Linked DNA regions of Homo sapiens: regions 2, 3, 4 and 5 are each linked to region 1. Evidence: promoter capture Hi-C in 16 types of primary human blood cells and fetal thymus (Javierre and others, 2016). All regions are on one chromosome and are shown on one strand. The core of a region is centred on a gene start or on the middle of the fragment in contact, and the rest is flanking DNA. Distances in the headings are between cores, read along the strand shown. Region 1 holds the start of PADI2 (peptidyl arginine deiminase 2). Region 2 overlaps ARHGEF10L (Rho guanine nucleotide exchange factor 10 like). Region 3 holds the start of NBPF1 (NBPF member 1). Region 4 has its middle 4.3 kb from the start of RCC2. Region 5 overlaps RCC2 (regulator of chromosome condensation 2).

Evidence for each region. The method cuts DNA at HindIII sites, captures the fragments that hold promoters and counts their contacts. A CHiCAGO score of 5 or more calls a contact.
Region 2: a contact is called between a fragment that was not itself captured here and the fragment with the promoter of PADI2 in region 1, in 1 of 17 cell types (monocytes). The highest score is 6.2, in monocytes.
Region 3: a fragment that was not itself captured here is called in contact with the fragment with the promoter of PADI2 in region 1 in 1 of 17 cell types (neutrophils); the score reaches 8.9 in neutrophils.
Region 4: a fragment that was not itself captured here is called in contact with the fragment with the promoter of PADI2 in region 1 in 2 of 17 cell types (neutrophils and monocytes); the score reaches 14.4 in neutrophils.
Region 5: a contact is called between a fragment that was not itself captured here and the fragment with the promoter of PADI2 in region 1, in 8 of 17 cell types (neutrophils, M0 macrophages, M2 macrophages and 5 more). The highest score is 12.0, in neutrophils.

The regions. Positions count from the first base shown.
Region 1 is chr1:17,118,022-17,120,721 of GRCh38, forward strand. PADI2 (peptidyl arginine deiminase 2) reads right to left here and starts at 1,430. Exons shown (of 16, transcript NM_007365.3): 1 at 1,259-1,430. The coding sequence starts at 1,350. RefSeq lists a silencer at 1,240-1,449 and an enhancer at 2,021-2,555. The HindIII fragment of the contact is 8,283 bases long and covers 1-2,700 here.
Region 2 is chr1:17,576,708-17,579,580 of GRCh38, forward strand. All of the region lies in intron 1 of ARHGEF10L (Rho guanine nucleotide exchange factor 10 like), which reads left to right. Among named protein-coding and RNA genes, the nearest start is that of ARHGEF10L, 38 kb to the left of the region's middle. The HindIII fragment of the contact is 5,529 bases long and covers 1-2,873 here.
Region 3 is chr1:16,612,169-16,614,868 of GRCh38, forward strand. It overlaps NBPF1 (NBPF member 1), which reads right to left and starts at 1,396. Exons shown (of 18, transcript NM_001405701.2): 1 at 1,170-1,396. RefSeq lists an enhancer at 1,240-2,197. The HindIII fragment of the contact is 6,693 bases long and covers 1-2,700 here.
Region 4 is chr1:17,442,587-17,445,286 of GRCh38, forward strand. No RefSeq gene overlaps it. Among named protein-coding and RNA genes, the nearest start is that of RCC2, 4.3 kb to the left of the region's middle. The HindIII fragment of the contact is 6,214 bases long and covers 1-2,700 here.
Region 5 is chr1:17,421,701-17,424,400 of GRCh38, forward strand. RCC2 (regulator of chromosome condensation 2) reads right to left here. Exons shown (of 13, transcript NM_018715.4): 5 at 1,005-1,136; 6 at 503-591. Among named protein-coding and RNA genes, the nearest start is that of RCC2, 17 kb to the right of the region's middle. RefSeq lists an enhancer at 351-1,105. The HindIII fragment of the contact is 4,272 bases long and covers 1-2,700 here.

The DNA of each region.
Region 1 (2,700 bases), core at 180-2,679:
TGGGTCCCTAGTCCTGGGGCTTGTTGGTATCAGCGTGGCCAGTGCCTCTGCAGCGGTGGCAGGAGACTGGTTGGGCAGGTGGGAGGGCTGCCAGGGCTGTGTGGGGAGACACATGATGGGTTGGTGGGGGCCTGGGAGAGGCAGGGTGCTCCAGGTGTCAGGATGATTTGAGAGCCATAAACCACGATGGTGCCTCCGTGTGAGTTCAGCTTGAGGCAGAGAGGATAGGGGACTCATCCGGTGTCAGCACAGGGTCCCACCTCAGAGTCCTGCATGCTCCCTGCCCCCAGCACTGACCCCTCCAACCCTAGCAATGGGGAGGTTTTAAATGCTTGGAATAGAGGGGGCAGATCAAACCCCAGCATAACCCCACCCTTTCATTCACACCAGCCACACCTTTCCAAGGCCCCGTCCCATTACTCAGGGAGACAGATCATTGGACTTGGCTGCTTTCTGGGATTGCGGGGGGAGTGGTAGGGCCCTACCCTACCTTCAGCTGTCTCGGACATCCCGCACTCTACCAAGTTCTTGGACAGAGAGAAGGGGAGGGAGCAGAACTCTGAATCAGGATCCTTTTCCAACAAAGTACCCCGCTATACACCCCAAGTCCCCGTCGTCAGCTGGGTAGAATATTGTCCCTCTGTGGTCTCAGAATGAAGTCAGGGGAAGGTATCTGGGGACACGGAGCTCAGGGCCAGTGCCTGGGGACAAGCAACCACCAGCAGCCCCCACAGGGCGAAATCGGAGCCTGAGTAACCTCCAGGGCCGGATTCAGCCTCAGGGCAGCTCCCTTCGGGTCCTGCCCCAGTCCCCGGCAAGTCTCCGCGGAAGCTCCGCTGAACTGGGAGTGGGAAGCAGGAGAGGGGCTGGGTTGAGGTGGGTCCGAGGGGAAGTGAGGTGCGGAGGGGAAGTGAAAGGGGAGAGGACGGCAGGGAAGCTGAAGGGGTGTGAGGTCCCCCGGGAGGAGAACTGGAGAGGGCCAGACGGAGGGTTACGGGTGAAAGGGAGGGTCTGTGAGGGAGCTGGGGCTGAGGCTGTGTTAGGGGGTCTGGGAGAGTCTCAGGGTTTCTGGAAGGTGGACACAAGGTTCGGGGGTTGTCAGGTTTCTGGATGAGATTCTTAGGATTTCTGGGCTCGGGGGCTCGGGATGAGGGACAACTCGGGCTGGACAAAGGCTGTCCACGTCCCCGAGTCTGAGCGCGTCTCAGGATTTCTGGGCTCGAGATCTCGGCCCGGGCATCACGGTGGGCCGGCTCACCTGTAGACATCGGTCCAGAGGTAGGTGCCCAGCACGTACACCGCCTCCACGCGGCTCCCGTACTGCAGCCGCACGGTCCGCTCGCGCAGCATCCTCCCCGCCGCAGTGCCCGCGCTCGCTGGTCCGGGGCGGCCGGGAGCACCTGCAGCAGGTGCGCCTTCTCCAGCAGCCTGCGCCCCACGGCCCCGCGCGCAGCCTTATCCAGCGGCCGGTGGGCGGGGCGGCCCGCCCCAGTCCTCTCGCAGTGGGCTGCGGGCCTGTCCGTCAAGCGTGGTCCCGCCCCTAACTCGTCCCGCCCCGCTGAGGTCGTGGCGAAGTCATCAGGGACCAGTTTTGTGCTTTCCATGGTTGGATTGTCATTCTTTCATTCGACAAACCTTCGGTGGGCGCCCAGGTGTTGGAGGGCCCTAGCTCCCCTCCGGACGCCCCAGCCCAGTGGGGCTGAAAATGCAAATGTGGGAACACAAAGAGGGTGCCCTAACCCAGCCTGGGGGCCAGGAAGCCTTCCCAGAGAAGACGATCCTGGAACCTTCTTAAAGGAGGCGTTTGCAAATTAAAGGCGAGGAGAGGGAGCTGCCTGTGCAAAGCCGGGTGCAGCCCGGTACCCCCATCCCCCAACAGTCAGATGAACCTCACCATAGAGAAAACGGGAAGCGGTGGGGATGGGGAACCCGGCAGCTGAGGGAGACCAGGACGCCAAGCCAAGGCATTGGAGGGTGGGAGATGGGAGCCTGGAGTGGTTGTCTCCGCGAGCCGTGGTCGGGTGTGCTCGTGAAATGGGTCATTCTGGGCTGGGGAGGGGCAAGGAAGCCCCTGGCTGTGGCCAGAGCTGGAGAGGTGGGGACTGACCCGGCCACTGCTTAGGGACTGGGATTTTGGTGGCACCTGGTGACTGATAGGATGTGTGGGTGGAGGGAGAGGAGAGGGGTAAGGATTAGGGCCCCGGTTCTGGCCTGGGCCACCAAGGGAAGGGGGGTGCCACCCAGAGGTCATCGTGTGTCTCACAGAGGCTGAGATGTAGGATGACAATCAGTGTGGGCCTCGGCCAGCCCCTCCCATGTCCCAGCCCTTCCCCTGGGACCCAGTGGGAGTGCTGTTCAGACACATACATCAGCCCTGTGTGAGGAAGTGGTCTTTGGTAGGTGAGGACAGAAACTGAGGGGGGGTGGGCAGAGGCCGTGGGAGGGAAGGAGTGGGGCGGAGGGGATGTGTGTTTGGGAAGGAGTTAGAGCTGATGGAAGATGGAGCTCCAGGAACGGGTGCCCCCAGACAAGAGGGGTGAGGCCCACAAGTGCCCAGTGCTGATATACCCAGCCCTTGGACTCCAACCTTCTCCCTGAGGCGGCCCAAATTAGGAGGTGGTGAAGAGCCCAGCTGCTTCTGAGTGGCAGGGATTTGGGAGGAATGTGAGTGGGGAAGAGGGAAGGCCCGAGTTTTAGCCA
Region 2 (2,873 bases), core at 188-2,687, 460 kb after region 1:
GCTGGGTCCTCATTTCATCAGCACAGGACGCTCAGGAAGCAGGTGCTGGTCTTACTCCCACCGCCCCAGTGAGAAAGGAATTCACTGCTGCTGTGGCAAGTGGCAGAGCTGGGATTTGAACCTGAATCATCCCGGCACCAAATCCTATCCTCTAAACGTGGCCTTCGGTGTCACCGCCTGGAGAGTCACCGTGCTGTGGGCAGTGCCCTCCTCCTTTGGACTCAGTTTCCACATCTGTAAAGCAAGAGCAACACTGCCCTCTTGGAGCTACTTTCTGGTTCTGACATGCCATGCTTTTGTATTAGTTCTCTTTTTAAAGATGAGAATGGTTATTGTTTATTTATTTATTTATTTTTGAGACAGTCTTGCTCTGTCGCCTAGGCTGGAGTGGCAGTGGTGTGATCTTGGCTCACTGCAACATCCACCTCCCAGGTTCAAGTGATTCTCCTGCTTCAGCTTCTCGAGTAGCTGGGACTACAGGCATGTGCCACCACGGCTGGCTAATTTTTTGTATTTTTAGTAGAGATGGGGTTTCACCATGTTGGCCAGGCTGGTTTCGAACTCCTGACCTCAAGTGATCTGCCTGCCCCGGCCTCCCAAAGTGCTGGGATTACAGGCATGAGCCACCATGACTGGCCTGAAGTGGGTACTTTTTAATCCCCATTTTGCAGATGAGTAAACTGAGGCCCAGAGATAGGATTAACTCATCCAAGGTCTCATAGCTGCTGAGTGGAACCCAGGTGGTATTGGGGAACCTGAACTCTTTTCTAACCCCGTGAGGATCTGTGGTGGTGGCAGGGGGCTGCTGTGAGCCATCCCCACTCCCTTGTCCACATCCTTCTGAGACTAACAGCCTGTGTGTGCAAAATGGTGGCCACAGGCCTATGGGTATGGGCAGGGCTTGCTGGGCTGCGTCCTCGTCCCGACACTTCAGAGCCCCGCATTAGCCTGTAGCAAACACCTTCCAGATTCCAGCCCCAAAGGCTAGGGAGGCAGTGCGATCAGAGGATTGAGATTAGGCTTTAGGGTCAGTGCTCACTGGCTGGAATCCTAGTGTGGTCACCTTGTCCTCTTGCTTCTGTGACCTGGGGCAAATATTTGCTTCTCTGAGCCTCTGTTTCCTCATCCGTAAGCTGGGGTGTTACGAGAATTAGATAGAATAATGCTAATAAAGTGTCAGGCTCCATACATGTTGGTGTCTCTCTTCCTTTCTAGGGAAAGCCTTGGGCTTTGGAGGGGAGGGCAGGAATCAGTCCCAAAGGGTGAAGAAAGGGGAGGACATTGGACTTTCTGCCCTGGAAGGGAAGGATCCTGGGTTTTGGCCCCAGGGTAGAGTAGCAGCCTCTTTCTGTATCATCATCAAATTGTATTTAAGGAGCAATTTGGACAGGAGGCTGGGCAAAGTGCCTCCCTTTTTCCTTCTGTAAAATGGGTATAGGTCTTTCTGCTGCTTCCCTCCTGGAACTCTTGGGGCAGCAGAGCCCTCAGAGAAAGGCTGAGCAGACCTCAGAGGTTTTGAATGAGCCCACTGGGAGGGGGCCCTGTAGCAGGAGTGCCGTGCAGCTACAGGTTTGTTTTCCAAAATCCTTTGCTGAAGTAAAAGTTTAGTCCTGAGAGTTTTCAGCGTGGGTCTAAAAGGCACAGTCACACGCTTAGCAGAGAGTAACTGGTATCATCAGTCACAGTGAGAAATGCAGGCAGGTGTCAGGGTTCACATCTGTGATCCCAGCACTTGTTGAGGTCAACAAGGGAGGATGGCTTGAGCCCAGGAGTTTGGGACCAGCCTGGGCAACAGAGTAAGACCCTATCTCTAGAAAAAATTTTAAAAAATTAGCCAGGCATGGTGGTGTGTGCCTGTAGTCCCAGCTACTGGGGAGGCTGAGGCGAGAGGATCACTTGACCCAGGAGTTCCAGGCTACAGTGAGCCATGATTGTGCCACTGCACTCCAACCTGGGAAATCGAGACCAAAGCAGCCTCAGTACCTATCGATGGGGGCTATATAAATTATACCCCCACAAAAAACACCTACCTCAAAACAAAACCAAACCTACTATGCAGCTGTTAAAAAAAGTGGGGTTGATTTCTATGTATTAGTACTATTCTGAAATCATCACTGAGATTTAGGTTAAAAAGGCAGTTGCAGCACTGTGAGTGCTGTGTGCTCCTTCTGTATGAAACAAGGCATATCTGCAGATATGCAAGTTGGCCCATGCATGGGAGAGTTCTGGAAGGATTCTTGAGAAGTCAGTAACAGTCATCTCTTCTGGGGGACTGGGGGATTAGGGCAACCAGGGTGGGAGGTTGACTAACTTTTTTTTTTTTAATTTTTTGAGACAGAGTCTTGCTCTGTTTCCCAGACTGGAGTGCGGTGGCACGGTCTTGGCTCACTGCAACCTCCGCCTCCCACGTTCAAGTGATTCTCCTGCCTCAGCCTACTGAGTAGCTGGGATTAAAGGCATGTGCCACCATGCCCAGCTAATTTTTGTATTTTTAGTAGAGATGGAGTTTCACCACGTTGGCCAGGCTGGTCTCGAACTCCTGACCTGAAGTGATCCGCCCACCTCAGCCTCCCAAAGTGCTGAGATACAGGCGTGAGACACTGTGCCCGGCTCGGAGACTAACTTTTCATTGTCTACCTGTTGTATCGTTTGAGTCTTGAAAGGTGCTAGAGTGTAGTAGCTGCTTCTAAGCACAGACTCCAGAGCCCCATGGCCTGGGTTCGAACCCTGGCTCTTCCTAGCTGTGTGATCTTGGGCAAGTTACTTAACCATTCTTGGTCTCATTTTCTCATTTATAATTTGGAATAATAGACGTTAATATTTGTAAAGTGCTTAAAATTATGTCTGAGGTATCGTTGGCAATGCAAGAATGT
Region 3 (2,700 bases), core at 126-2,625, 510 kb before region 1:
TTAGTAGAGAAAGGGTTTTGCCACATTGCCCAGGCTGGTCTGGAAATCCTGGGCTCAAGTGATCTACCCACCTTGGCGTCCCAAAGTGCTGGGATTACAGGTGTGATCACTGCGCCCGGGCCACCTGCACATGTAAAATTGTGAACTTCTGTATACTTCAGTAACTTTTCCAAGATTTCTTTGACGCAAAGTTCTCAGAAATCTTAAAGCTAGCATTTCAGAATAGAAAAAGTAGCTTCTGGTTCACTAGTGAAATTTTACCAATAGAATTTAAAAACAAAAAGCTACTAACGCATATCAGCTCAGAACACTACCAGCAGATCTTTTCTTTAACTTCCTGAAGCACTGGGATTCATTCTTTTGGCAAAGAAAGGATGAACAACACTGTAACCCAAAGAAAAGATACCACTGCCAGAAAAGACTTCTTTTCGAAAGCAGCTCTAAGCAAAAGATAGGAGGAAAACAAGGAAGCCAGGCCAAACGTCTTGGTTAACTCTCCGCTGAAAGGACGCCACATGAGATGATCTAAGAAGCCAGCCAGCCAGCCAGACGCAGGGAAATCACAGCAACTCTTTGGAGTGCAAACAGCAACCCCACAATCCAATCTACCCGAAATCCTGCGGTTCATTTGAGGCTTGCCCCGCTAGTCAGGAGGTGATTCAGTGATGGCTACAAATGCTGCTCATGTGCATCCTGGAGCTGGCACACCTGGCTTGCCCATCACCAGCCTGGAGACACCGCCAGGAGCAGAAGCCCGGAGGCCAGTAAAGACCCCAACTTTGCAAGTCAGGGGCGCGAGCGCGCTCGCCTCTCAGGTCCGCAGAGGGAACGGATTTCTGGCCTGGAGGGTGGGGTGCGGGGTCAGTGTCCTCTACAGGATATAGGAGGACGTGCCCCCGAAGCTGCTCCGTCCCTCCACCCCCTGGGATGCCACAGAACACCCGCCAGCGAGTTTCTTCCCCAGCGCCCACGAGAGTTGGGCTGCGGGCGGCAGCGGCAGGCGAAGAATCCAGCGCGGGGAACTCAGGCCCCGGCGGTGCACGACCCCCCACAGCCCCCACCCGCCCCCGCGCTCGCGCAACAAAACTTGCCACGGCCGCGCCTCGACCCAGCTGTGCGCCCGCGGGTCCCGGATTCACCGCCCGCCCAGCCTGGCGCGGCGCCCTCACCTCAGAAACGCTGGGTGGACTTCGCGTAACTTCCCATTCACAGGGCAGCCGGCAGCCGCGCCGCCGCGCCTCGGCCCAGCTCCTGGCGCCGCAGATCGCCCGTCCCGCGTTCCCAAAAGCACCGCGCTCGCTCAGAAGCTCGGGCAGCCTCGCGACCCTCACCTACGCCTCCCAGTACCGCCGCTGTCTCAACCGCCACCCAGCCCCTCGCCTGCGCCTGCGCCTGCAGCCCACTGGCTCCTCAGGATCCCGATGGGCGTGTCAGGATAACCCAAGGCGCAGGCGCGGCGGGGCCTTAAAGGGACCCGGCGGCCTCTTCTGCACAACGGGTTCGAGCAGGTTAGGGGCCGCGCAGGCGGAGGAAAGGAGTAACCCAGGGGAAGGACCGAGTGCAGCGGGGACGGGGAAATCCCTCTCTCCCCTCCGCCTGTCTTTCAAAGCACCAGCCCTCGACCCTCCAAATCGCTGGTTTCCCCGGCCACTTGAACAGCCCCTGCCAGGTTGAAGAGGCAGGAGACACACCCCCTCTGGGGCTGGAGCGACCCCGCGCTTAGGACTGCAGGCCTCGCGCTGCCGCACCGCCCCGAATCTGACTTCCAGGCACGGGCACGCGGTGCAGTCGGGCAGGCTTCAGAAGAGCCCCCAGCTCTCCCAGAGGTGGCCTTAGGTCACTCTCAAAAAGAATAACCAATGTGTCAATGGCACTTGTAGTTATTTTCTAATTTAAATTTATTAACAGATTTTGCAGATGGGCTTCCACTGAAATAAGCCTTTGAGAAAAAGAAAAACTTTTTTTTTCAACAGGATTAGAATACCAAGAAATAGGAAGTAAAGCCATGCCGTCCACCCAGCTAAAAACTTTGAAAACTTGATATTTTATCTAAGGCAAATGTTTGCATAACTTTAGGTCATGCCATTATTTAAAGTCAATTTCAGTTAACAATTTCATTGCAACTGAATCTATCTTGTATAAGAAAACTAAGATACATCCCTGATAATCTACCTCTCCCCTCCTATACTCCATCCGTCAGCAAATCCTACTGGTTTTTACCTTCCAAATTTTCCTTGAATCTGTCCTCTTCTATCTCCTCCGTCACCACCCTAGTCTAGGCTGCCTTCACCTGGGGAGTGAGGGTCGAGGGACTACTGACCTAGTCTTCTTGTGGTTTACCCATATCCCCTTTATCGCCTCTCTAATCTCAACACAACAGGCAGAGTGGCTTTTCCAAAATATAATGTGACCGTGTCACTTCCCAGCCTAAAGCACTTAAACACCTTCCCATTCTCTTAGACAAAACCTCCTAACTAACCAAGCCCCGAATGGCCAGGCGCCTTGCCCACTTCTTCATCTCTTCTCACTACTCAGACCAATTCTGTTCTGCTCTCTCTGCTCCAGCCAAACTGGCCTCTTTTATTCCCTATTTACCAGCTTCCTGGCCTCCACAGAGCTTTTGCTCATGCTTTGCTCTGTGCCTGGAAAGTTCTTCTAACCCCTATTCTTCTGAGAACAGCTGTAGTCTCCACCTCTGAA
Region 4 (2,700 bases), core at 173-2,672, 320 kb after region 1:
TTCAAGCAGTCTCCTGCCTCAGCCTCCCAAGTAGCTGGGATTACAGGCGCATACCACCACGCCTAGCTAATTTTGTATTTTTAGTAGAGACGGGGTTTCACCATGTTGGCCAGGCTGGTCTTGAACTTCTGACCTCGTGATTTGCCCGCCTTCGCCTCCCAAAGTGCTAGGATTACAGGCGTGAGCCACTGTGCCCAGCCTCAGAAGTGTAATTCTATTCAACTTGGCTACAGAAAGCTACACCTGTACTTGAAAGATTAATTTTCTGATCCAGTGTCTATAAAAATGAAACCAGTGATCCTGGGAGTGATGCGCTAACCAATGGAAACGATTCTTTCTCTTTTTTTTTTTTTGGAAACTGGGTCTCACTCTGTCACCTAGGCTGGACTGTAGTGGCGCCATCTTGGCTCACTACAGCCTCGACCTCCTGGGGTCAAACAGTTCTCCTGCCTCAGCCACCCTAGTAGCTGAGACTGTAGACGTGCACCTCCACGCCCAGCTAATTTTTAAAATTTTTTTGTGGAGACAAGGTCTCACTATGTTCCCCAGGCTGGTCTCAAACTCCTGACCTCAAGCAATCCTTTTGCCTTGGCCTCCCACAGTGCTAGGATTATAGGCATGTGTCACTGTGCCTGGCTTCTTTTTACTCTTTTCAATGTGACTACCACAAAATTTAATATTACATATTAAGTTTTTTGTAGCTCATATGTTATTCCTGTTGGACATCACAGCCTTCGAAAGCATAGCTGGAAAACCAGTAATTTCCTCCAGACCCCACTCTTTCTGCATCTGTTCTCTAGTTTCTCCTCTCTGTAAAATGGCAAGATAGAGTTTGGGCTAAATTTCTCTTGAGGTTACTTCTGGATTTCGTATTCCCTGATTCTGAGGACAGTAGTCAGCGGGGAATCCCTGTCATAGTGTTTGGAGAGATGTTTTCTGGGAGATGCAGATCCGGTCGTCCTATTTCTGCCAATGAGTCATGAAATTTTCAAACGCAGAGTCTTTAAATATTGTAGTTGGACCTTTAAGTTCTCTGTCTGTGAGGCATGCCTGGGCTTGGCTTGTGGCTTCTTCATCTTTGTTTTTCTAGCAAGCACCCAGAGCAGCCCGGCGTGTAGTAAGCTGTCAATATATGTTTGTTCATCTAAATAATATCCAGCGGAAGAACTGAAGCCCAGGGAGATGCTGAGGCCTCCTGAGGCCACACAGCTGGCAGATAGGATAGCCAGGAAGTGTACAGGCATCTGCATCAGTAGGAGGATTGTCAGAAACACAGAATCTGGCCAGGCGTGGTGGTACACGCCTGTAATCCCAGCACTTTGGGAGGCTGAGGCAGGACGATTGCTTGAGCCCAGGAGTTGGAGACCAGCCTGGACAACATGGTGAGACCCCATCTCTACAAAAATTAGAAAAAAATTAGCCAGCCGCGGCCAGGCGCAGTGGCTCACGCCTGTAATCCCAGCACTTTGGGAGGCCGAGGCGGGCAGATCACTTGAGGTCAGGAGTTCGAAACCAGCCTGGCCAACATGGTGAAACTCCCGTCTCTGCTAAAATATACAAAAATTAGCCGGGCGTGGTGGCAGGCAACTTAATCCCAGTTACTTGGGAGGCAGAGGCAGGAGAATCGTTTGAACCCGGGAGGCGGAGGTTGCAGTGAGCCAAGATCGAGCCATTGCACTCAAACCTGGGGGATAAGAGTGAGACTTCTCTCAAATAAAAGAAAAGAAAAGAAAAAAATTAGTCAGGTGTGGTGACGCAAACCTGTAGTCCCAGCTACTTTGGAGGCTGAGGTGGGAAAATCGCCAGAGCCTGGGAAGTCCAGGCTGCTGTGAGCCATGATCATGCCATTGCACTCCAGCTTAGGTGACAGAGTGAGACCCTGTCTCAAAAAAATAAAAATAAACACTGAATCTCAGGTTCAGCCCCCAGACCTACTGAATCAGAATGTGTTTTTTTTTTTTTTTTTTTTTTTTGAGTTGGAGTTTCCCTCTTGTTGCCCAGGCTGGAGTGCAGTAGCGCAATTTGGGCTCACTGCAACCTCCACCTCCCAGTTCAAGCGATTCTCCTGCCTCATCCTCACAAATAGCTGGGATTACAGGCACCTGCCACCACACCCAGCTAATTTTTTGTATTTTTAGTAGAGACGGGGTTTTGCCATGTTGGCCAGGCTGGTCTCGAACTCCTGACCTCAGGTGATCCACCCACCTCGACCTCCCAAAGTGCTGGAATTACAGGCGTGAGCCATCACACCCGGCCCAGAATGTGCATTTTTAACAGGTGATTTTTATGCATCTTAAAGTATGAGAGGTGCAGCCAGGCATGGTAGCTCACACCTATAATCCCAGCACTTTGGGAGGCTGAGGCGGGCAGATCACCTGAGGTCAGGAGTTCGAGACCAGCCTGACCAACATGGAGAAACCCCGTCTCTACTAAAAATTAGCCGGGCGTGGTGAGCGGAGATTGCGCCATTGCACTCCAGCCTGGGCAACAAGAGCGAAACTCCATCTCAAAAAAAAAAAAAGTATGAGAAGTGCTACTGAAATCATACCACTTTTCCATACCCTGTGGAAGCCATTCAAAAGGTGGTTTCTCATACTTTAAGATGCATCTAGCTGGGCGCAGTGGCTCACGCCTGTAATCCCAACATTTTGGGAGGCCGAGGAGGGTGGATCACGAGGTCAAGAGATCGAGACCATCCTG
Region 5 (2,700 bases), core at 174-2,673, 300 kb after region 1:
TCAACCCGACCACAAACTAAGCCTGTTTTAAAAACTATAGCAAGGCTGTGTGCAGTGGCTCACACCTGTAATCCCAGTACTTTGGGAGGCCGAGGTGGGTGGATCACCTGAGGTCAGGAGTTCCAGACCAGCCTGACCAACATGGAGAAACCCCGTCTCTACTAAAAATACAAAATTAGCCAGGTGTGGTGGCACATGCCTGTAATCCCAGCTACTCCAGAGGCTGAGGCCGGGGAATCACTTGAACCCGGGAGGCGGAGGTTGCAGTGAGCCGAGATTGCGCCATTGCACTCCAGCCTGGGCAAAAAGAGTGAAACTCCGTTCTCAAAAAAAAACAAAAAACAAAAAAACAAACAAAAAAACTCTACAGCATGTAACTAAACATCCAGACCCTGTTTTTACAAGGGGTAAATTAACTCAAACGGAGACCCCACCTTAGAAAATCAAACACAAAAGTAAAGAGAAACAAAAAGCCATGGAGCCGGAGCTGAGGAGGGGTCACCTGCGCGGGGCTGGGAACAGCGTCTGTCTGGTTGCCAAGGCCCAGCTGCCCCATCTTGTTTTCCCCAAACGCAAACACGGAGCCCGTTTCTGGAAGAAAGGAAAAATATCACAAAAGGGAAGATAATGGTGAATGTTTTGAACTAGATTTAGAATCAAAGGCATCAAAATAATAAAAACAGCTCATTTGCCAGGCAGAAGGCAAGTGAGACTGCCCAAAAGCTGGCAGTGCAGACGCTTCACAGCAAAGCCATTTCACATCAGAAACTGGGTGTGCAGAGAAACAGAGGGCAGCGTCTCCTACTCCCAGATGGGCCTCCTATGGCCACTGGGGAGGCTCCCAATGCCCTCAAGAAGCCACTCCATGCCAAGGTTCTCAGGGCCTCTTTCTGATCCTGACCAAGAGTCACAAGGGGAACTCCACCACCCCACGCCCCATCCCCAAGGCAGACCACCTGGCCTCTTGCCAAACTGAGAGGAGACACCAGCAGCCACCTCCTTACCCGTCAAGGCCAAGGTGTGGTTCCGCCCACATGCTGCAGACACAATCACTTCGTGGCTAAGACCCTCGATGAGTCTAGGGGCTTCTACTCTCTTGGTGTCACCATGTCCCAGCTGCCCCTTCTCATTTCGACCTGCAGATCACATGAGAGAAAGTAGAAAAGAGAGAGGGTGGTCCAGGCGGCACCACCAGGAGAAGGCGAGTACAAACACACTCTCAAATGATGCCCATCTGTCTCTGGAAGGTACCCTCCAAATTCCCAACAGCCAAGATCCAGAGCAAAGAACGCCCCGGCCCTCTGCCCGCTGGAATGGCGCCTGCTGCAGCTCCCCGGACCTCCTTCCCTGGGGCAGCAGCGGGACCACCCGTGCACACCTCCCACGTCTCTGCTACAAAGGGAAATGAGAGGCTCAGTGTGGTAGGGACACCATGCACAGGCGGGCATGCTCGCAGAAACACGCCGTTCCCACTTAGAGTGCCTGCAAGACAACCACCCCGTCCCTACCCTCTGAGATGTATTTTAAGACAGCACCCCATTTTGACACCTGGCTCACCAGAGTTTAATCACTTTGGTGCTCTGGGCATCCACTGAGGACCATTTGGTGTCTGCCCAATATTTCTCTTCCTTTTTCTACCCTGTAAATGGTGCTCACATAACAGTGCCAATCCCACCCCTAGGGATCGCCCCTCAAGGACTCTCAGCCACAGGAACCCTGGTGACAAAGCACAGATCCACCCTCAACACAACACGCCCAGCCCCACCTCCAGGACTGCTGCAGGTGCGACCAAGGCCCTGTATCTGTGAATTCCAGCGGAAGGCAGGCCTGAGGGCCAACCCCTACCCCCAAGTCCTCTGCAGAACCAAATTCAACTCCAAACAGACGTGGAAGTTGGGTGGGCCAAAAGGAGGGCTGGGAGCCCCTACACCGCATCTAGGTTTCAACACAAACTACCAAGTTCCAAAACAAAAATTCAACCGGCCACTCTCGGATCCCTCCCGATAAGAGAAAAACCACACATGTAACCTGACGTGGGGAAACTGACGGAGATCTTACAGTGGTGAGAAGTCAGGGCAATTCTAGGGGGTTTTGCAACCTTCTCCAGCAATGAACTTTTCACCCTTAGGTTGTGATAAAGGCAGACAGCAGAGCCATTAAGATGAGTTCCAGCTGTCCTGGAGAAGGCTTGCAGGAGCAGCCTCTGACTACAGAAGGAATTGCGACGAAGGGAAACCAGCCTCTGACTCGCTCTAATTAAAGAACGGCGGGCTGAAGGGCCAGCACTGGCACTCGAGCAGGAGAGGCAGATACACCAGCTTCCAATGGGAGCTGCCCAAGTTCATGTGAAAGGCATGTGAATACAGAGCAACAAGTGCAAGTCTCAGTGGACTGAGATGCGGCAGGACAGGGTGAGCGGGCCACAGATGGAGACCCCACATGAGCAATGCGTCAGCCACCCTCCCGTGGTACTCTACTCACACCAGACGCCGCCCCCTGCCTTCTAGAGTGGCGAGCAGTGGGCCTGTGACACCTTCCAACCCTGTCCTCACCAACTGCACTGTCTGCTCGGGGATCACACGTCTTGATGGCGGGACATACATTGTCCCTGCCCACAGGGTCAGAACTGAGGGCGCTTTCAGAGCCACCACGCAAGTGAAGCTCAGCGAGAGATCAGAACTGAGGTATTTTAAGTTTGGA